Linked DNA regions of Homo sapiens: region 2 is linked to region 1. Evidence: promoter capture Hi-C in 16 types of primary human blood cells and fetal thymus (Javierre and others, 2016). All regions are on one chromosome and are shown on one strand. The core of a region is centred on a gene start or on the middle of the fragment in contact, and the rest is flanking DNA. Distances in the headings are between cores, read along the strand shown. Region 1 overlaps MACROD1 (mono-ADP ribosylhydrolase 1). Region 2 holds the start of ATL3 (atlastin GTPase 3).

Region 1 (3,588 bases), core at 79-2,578:
ACCCACCACTATACCCGGCTAATTTTTGTTTGTTTGTTTGTTTGTTTGTTTGTTTTTTAGATGAAGACTTATTCTGTTGCCCAGGCTGGAGTGCAGTGGTGTGATCTCAGCTCACTGCAACCTCCGCCTCCGGGGTTCAAGTGATTTTCCTGCCTCAGCCTCCCCAGTAGCTGGGATTACAGACGCGTGCCATCACGCCCGGCTAATTTTTTTGTGTTTTTGGTGGAGATAGGATTTCATCGTGTTAGTCAGGATGGTCTTGATCTCCGGACCTCGTGATCTGCCCGTCTCGGCCTCCCGGAGTGCTGGGGTTACAGGCGTGAGTCACTGGGCCTGGCCAATTTTCTTAAATTTTTTTTTTTTGAGATGGAGTCTTGCTCTGTCACCCAGGCTGGAGTGCAGTGGCGCGACCTTGGTTCATTGCAAGCTCCTCCTCCTGGGTTCATGCCATTCTCCTGCCTCAGCCTCCCGAATAGCTGGGATTACAGGTGCCCGTCACCATGCCCAGATAATTTTTTGTATTCTTTAGTAGAGACAGGGTTTCACTGTGTTAGCCAGGATGGTCTCAATCTCCTGACCTCGTGATCTGCCCGCCTCAGCCTCCCAAAGTGCTGGGATTACAGTCGTGAGCCACTGTGGCCGGCCAAAATTTTTAAAATTAATTTAAATTTTTTTCGAGACAGGGTCTCGCTCAGTTGCTCAGGCTGAAGTGCAGTGGTGTAATCATAGCTAGCTGCACCCTTAAACTGCTGGGCTCAGCGATCCTCCTGCCTCAGCCACCTGAGTAGTTGGAAGTACAGGCGCGCATCACCATGTGCAACTAATTTTTTTTTTTCTTTTGAGACAAGGTCTGTTGCCCACGCTGGAGTGCAGTTGTGAGATCTCAGCTCACTGCTTCCTCAACCTCCTGGGCTCAAGCGATCCTCCCACCTCAGTCTCCCAAGTAGCTGGAACTACAGGCATACGCCACCACGCCTAGCTAATTTTTTGTATTTTTTTGTAGAGACAGAATTTTGACATGTTGCCCAGGCTGTTCTCAAACTCCTAAGCTCAAGCGATCTACCCACCTCGGCCTCCCAAAGTGCTGAGGTTACAGGTGTGAGCCATGGGCTGCTAATGTTTTAAAACCTTTATTGTAGAGACTGGGTTTCACCATGTTGCCCAGGCTGGTCTCAAACTCCTAAGCTCAAGCGATCTACCCACCTCGGCCTCCCAAAGTGCTGAGGTTACAGGTGTGAGCCATGGGCTGCTAATGTTTTAAAACCTTTATTGTAGAGACTGGGTTTCACCATGTTGCCCAGGCTGGTCTCAAACTCCTAAGCTCAAGCGATCTACCCACCTCGGCCTCCCAAAGTGCTGAGGTTACAGGTGTGAGCCATGGGCTGCTAATGTTTTAAAACCTTTATTGTAGAGACTGGGTTTCACCATGTTACCCAGGCTGGTCTCAAACTCCTGGCCTCAAGCAATCCGCCCACCGCAGCCTCCCAAAATGCTGGCATGACAGGTGTGAGCCACTGTGCCTGGCCAAGTGTATTTTTTAAGCCATCACATTATGGGAGATCTGGGGGGCTGCCCCAGCTGGACTCTGCCTTTGATTAGGGTCTGAGCCGTGGCCCTTGAAGACTGCTACACTTTTCATCGTTACATTCAAATCACACTTTCAGCCAAGTTACATTTGACAGTCAAGTGCTGCAAGTGTAGAGATCTTCAGTGCACAGTGTATGCAACTGTGCAGTCACTACTTGGGTCAAAAGGTAGAGCATTGCCATCACGCCAGAAGTCGCCTCTTTTCACTTGGTACTGTCTGGAGCTAATCACTCTTGTGATATCTGTTCATTTTGTCTCTTCTTGAAGTCTGGCCCCTTTTACTCAATATCCGGCCAGTTCGTCCTTGTTATTGGATGTGGCAATGGTTCCCTCTTTTTCATTGCTGTATAGTGTTCCAGCATATGAACGTACCACAGCTTGTTTCCCACTCTTTTGTTGTTTTGTTTGGTTTTGTTTTTTGAGATGGAGTCTTGCTCTGTCGCCCAGGCTGGAGTGTAGTGGCACGATCCTGGCTAACTGCAACCTCCGTTTCTTGGGTTCAAGCGATTCTCCTGCCTCAGCCTCCAGAGTTGCTGGGATTACAGGCACCCGCCACCACGCCTGGCTAATTTTTGTATTTTAGTAGAGACGGAGTTTCACCATGTTGGCCAGGCTGGTCTCAAAATACTGACCTCAGGTGGTCTACCTGTCTCGGCCTCCCAAAGTGCTGGGATTACAAGTGTGAGCCACCATCCCGGCCCCCACTCTTTTGTTGATAGGCATTTGGGTTTCTTGTGAATAAAACTGTGCTGAACATTTTTTTTTTTTTTTTTTTTAGATATGGTCTCATTCTGTTGCCCAGGCTGGAGTGCAGTGGTGCAATCACAGCTCACTGCAGCCTCCAACTTCTGGGCTCAAACCATCCTCCCACCTCAGCCTCCTGAGTAGCTGGGACTATAGGCATGTGCCACCATGCCTGGCTAATGTTTTTAAAAATGTCTTGCAGAGACAGGGTCTCATTATGTTGCCCCAGGCTGGTCTCGAACTCCTGGGCTCAAGTGATCCTCCCACCTCCGCCTGCAAAAGTGCTAGCGCTGAGATTACAGATGTGTGCCACTGTGCCTGGCTTCCTGAACATTCTCTCCATGTCTCTGATGGACATGTGCTCTCATTTCAGGGCTGTACCTAGATAGGCCTCCAAATACTTGTCTGCCTGAGAGGATCCTCTCTCAAAGCCTGGCACACAGTAACCAAACTCACAAGAGACTGACGTATAGGTCAGAAGGCATATGTGCAGTTTGTGGTGGGGAAATATAATGGCAGTGGGTCTGAAAACTCAGGTGTGCCTGAGCAGAGCCTCCTCTCCCTATGGGAAAGCCTCATGGAAGCCAAATTGTAATCTTAGGATTGCTCAGAGCATGCGATCTTATCCAGGGCTGGTTGAGTGATTTTGGAAGCCTTGCCCTGGGCAAGGCAGGTAAGCTTCCCTGTTTGAGAAGGGTCAGCCCACCCACAAGGATCCCCTTCCCCGGGCGTTTGCTCGGTATTTCCATCTATATGCAGTGCTGAGTGCCTGCTCTGGACCCATGGAAGGATGCCCAGCCCATGGCCCAGCTTGTCCTCCAAGCTGACGGCCAAATTCAGCTTCCCCCTGGACACTCCTTTTCTTTACCTCCAGGCTGACGCTCATTTCCATGGGCCCATTCTCCCTCTAGGTATGTACATACCTTCAGGCTGGATCTTCCTGGCTGGGAGACTTTCAGTCTTTTGGGGACACTTCAGCAGTGTCTGATTTTACTAGCCAGGGGTTACTTTCTCTAATTTATTTTTATTTATTTGTTTTTTTAATTTTTTTTGAGACCGAGTTTCGCTCTTGTTGCCCAGGCTGGAGTGCAGTGGCGCAATCTCGGCTCACCACAACCTCTGCCTCCTGGGTTCAGGCAATTATCCTGCCTCAGCCTCCCGCGTAGCTGGGATTACAGGCATGCGCCCCCATGCCCGGCTAATTTTGTATTTTTAGTAGAGACGGGGTTTCTCCATGTTGGTCAGGCTGGTCTCAAA
Region 2 (3,258 bases), core at 179-2,678, 490 kb after region 1:
AAAGGTAAAACATAAGTCAGATAGTAGCAGGAAGTCTTTTTTTTTTTTTTTTTTTTTGAGATGGAGTCTTGCTCTTTCTCCCAGGCTGGAGTGCAGTGGTGCCATCTCCACTCAATGCAACCTCTCCTGCCTCAGCCTCCCGAGTAGCTGGGATTACAGGCGCCTGCCACCACGCCTGGTTAATTTTTTGTATTTTTAGAAGAGATGGGGTTTCACCATGTTAGCCTGGCTGGTCTTGAACTCCCGACCTCAGGTGATCCAACCACCTCAGCCTCCCAAAGTGCTGGGATTACAGGCGTGAGCCACCGCGCCTGGCCAAGTGGTATGAAGTCTTTTGGAGAAAAGTAATGCAGGGAAAAGGAGCAGAGAATGCTGGGATGTGCGTGCAAGTTTTTTTTTTTTTTTTTTGATGGAGTTTTGCTCCTGTTGCCTACGCTGGTGTGCAATGGTGCGATCTCGGCTCACTGCAACCTCCGCCTCCTGGGTTCAAGCGATTCTCCTGTTCAGCCTCTGGACTAGCTGGGATTACAAGCGTGCGCCACTACGCCTGGCTAATTTCGTATTTTTAGTAGAGACGGGGATTCTCCATGTTGGTCAGGCTGGTCTCGAACGCCCACGACCTCAGGTGATCCACCCGCCTCGGCCTCCCAAAGTGCTGGGATTACAGGCGTGAGGCACGGCGCCCGGCCTGGACTTCTTACATTAGCTATCAGAGCGGTGATGGTGCGCATCAGCCATGGCCAGGGACAGGAATATAGGGAGATGATAATAAAGGTGGTAATGAAGTCACGGCCACCTGCCCTTATGAAGTCAAAATCATTAAAGACCCAGTGACGTTCATGCCATCCAGGGTTGAGGCCTCTCTTCTGCCCACCTGTGGTCCCAGGCCTAGTTAAACACCAAAGCTGTCTCTCACACTGGTGGTTCCAGGATAAAGCCTCGGCCTGGGGCCTGGTCTGCACGTTAGGCGCCGGCCGCAGCTCGCAGGAGGACCCGAGCCAGCCCGCCCCTTCCCGCACAGCCTGCTGGGAGTTGTAGTTCAGTCGTCGGAGAACCACGCCAAGCCCCGCCCCAGATGAGTGCGCAGTATGAGGACCGCTGGCCGGGACCCAGTGAGCGCGGGACTACAATTCCCAAAGGACGGTAGCACTCAGCGCCCCGCCAACAGGTACCCGGCGGCTCGCTTCGCGCACACGCGGCAGGCGGTGGCGGGATTCTGCCGCGTGCGCTTTCCCGCCCCGCCTCGCCTAGCCTCGTCCTGCGCTCGCCACGCCTCGGGCTGTCCGTTGGGCCACGCAGACCGCGCTGCGCTCGCTCCGTCGCGGCTCCGCGTGCCCCACCTTCTGGCTAGTTTTTTCTAGAGCCCAGGCTCCGCCCGTTTCCCGCTTCCAGGGCCCGGTTCGTTCCCGCCCGCACCCGTCCCTCTCCTCTGCACCCCTGCTGCTTCTGCTTTGAAGGCGGAGGCTCCATGTTGTCCCCTCAGCGAGTGGCAGCAGCTGCCTCAAGAGGAGCAGGTGAGGCGCCGATTTTCCCTGGATCGCCCCGCGGCCACCCCCGCCGCCTTCCCTGCTGTAGTTCTGAAAAGAACCCCCGCCCGCGCCGCCGCCCTTCCTCGTCCCGGGGCTGGGACCGCGCGTCCCTCGCCGGGGTCACTCGGTTTCCGAATTTGTGGTGGGGGGGCCCCTCTTCGGGCCCAGCTGGTCCAGCGAGGGCGGCACCTTCCTTACTTTTCGGCCGGGGGCGGCCGCCGTCAGGGCTCGGGCCCTGGTGCCGCCGGGGGCTCCTCCAGCTCCTCCCCTGGGCTGCAGCTGCCCCTGGGCGGCCCAAGGGCCGGTGGTCCCCGTGGGCGGCGTCCGGAGCTTCGGCCCCGCCGAGCCCCGCCCTGGGCAGAGCCGGGCGCCCCAGGGCGCTGCCCCTCCGTGCCCGGGCACTCAGCGCCCTCTCTGGTCGGAGAATCGGGGCCTGGATGGAGCGGGAAGGTGAATGCTGGTTTATTTGGCCTTTCTGGAAGTGCTGGAAGGCTGCGAAGTGTCTTGGAAGCTTTATTTTTATCCTAACGACCTTGAGGCACTGACCACAAGTATTAGGAAAGTTGGTTTTCAACCCATACTTAACGCTGTAAAGAATTGGTCTAAATTGGTTTTTCGTAAGTTAGTGCTTTTGGCACAGTACGTTGTTCTTTTGCTTTCCCGAAGACATGAAACATAGTGAAAGTATTAAAAACCAAATAAGGAGTCACCGTGTATTCACGGATCTGATTTAGTCTGTCATTTTACTTGGCTTTATTCTAGTGTAATGTGTGTGCTGTTGAAATGACCGTTTCACTTGCGAAATCGAAGAGCAAAAAGGAAAAGAACAGTGAAGAATTTTTAAATGAGTCTCAGTTCTCAAATTCAAATACGAAGCAATGGAACGTTTTGTCAGTCTTAGAATAACGGACCAAAAATGTACGATTTCACATATTGGCTTACTTTTGGAGATTTAAGAAGCATAACCTACGGAGTACTAATCCCTGTCAAGAATTTAGCATTGCAACATAGGTACTGAAATTCAAATTAGTGCTTTTTTTTTTCCATTCCCACAGAGATTAGCTTGTACTCCAGAAATTCCTGTTGCCGCTCTAACACCTGTAAACACTTGGCTGAGAAGGATCTCAGTATTGCAGTAGTCCAGCACATTGTTTTATTATTATTTTTTGAGACGGAGTTTTGCTCTGGTCACCCAGGCTGGAGTGCAATGGCGCGATCTCGGCTGATTGCAACCTCCGCTTCCTGGGTTCAAGCAATTCTTCTGCCTCATCCTCCCGGGTAGCTGGGATTACAGGCGCTCTCCACCATGCGCGGCTATTTTTTTTTGAGACGGAGTTTCGTTTTTGCTACCTAAACTGGAGTACAGTGGCGCAGTCTCGGCTCACTGCACCCTCCGCCTCCTGGGTTCAAATGATTCTCCTGCGTCAGCCTCCCGAGTAGCTGGGATTATAGACATCCGCCACCAGGCCCAGCTAATTTTTTGTATTTTTAGTAGAAACGGGGTTTCACCACGTTGGCCAGGCTGGTCTCGAACTCCTGACCTCAGGTGAACCACCCTCCTCTCCTCGGCCTCCCAAGTACTGGGATTACAGGCGTGAGCCATCGTGCCCGGCCCATTATTGTATTAGCTACAGTTTACTACCTCATTGTAGTAGAATTCATGAAATAGAAGTAACGGGATAGATGTGGTGTTGTGTACTAGCTTAATTTTCTTTTTCTTTTCTTTTTT

The links. The method cuts DNA at HindIII sites, captures the fragments that hold promoters and counts their contacts. A CHiCAGO score of 5 or more calls a contact.
Region 2: a contact is called between the fragment with the promoter of ATL3 here and a fragment that was not itself captured in region 1, in 1 of 17 cell types (total B cells). The highest score is 5.2, in total B cells.

The regions. Positions count from the first base shown.
Region 1 is chr11:64,159,590-64,163,177 of GRCh38, reverse strand. The region is part of intron 1 of MACROD1 (mono-ADP ribosylhydrolase 1); the gene reads left to right. Among named protein-coding and RNA genes, the nearest start is that of MACROD1, 4.7 kb to the left of the region's middle. The HindIII fragment of the contact is 3,366 bases long and covers 1-3,011 here.
Region 2 is chr11:63,669,546-63,672,803 of GRCh38, reverse strand. ATL3 (atlastin GTPase 3) reads left to right here and starts at 1,428. Exons shown (of 13, transcript NM_015459.5): 1 at 1,428-1,514. The coding sequence starts at 1,469. RefSeq lists enhancers at 912-1,021, 1,062-1,561, 1,562-2,063 and silencers at 1,112-1,231, 1,552-1,611, 1,642-1,901. The HindIII fragment of the contact is 2,416 bases long and covers 1-2,042 here.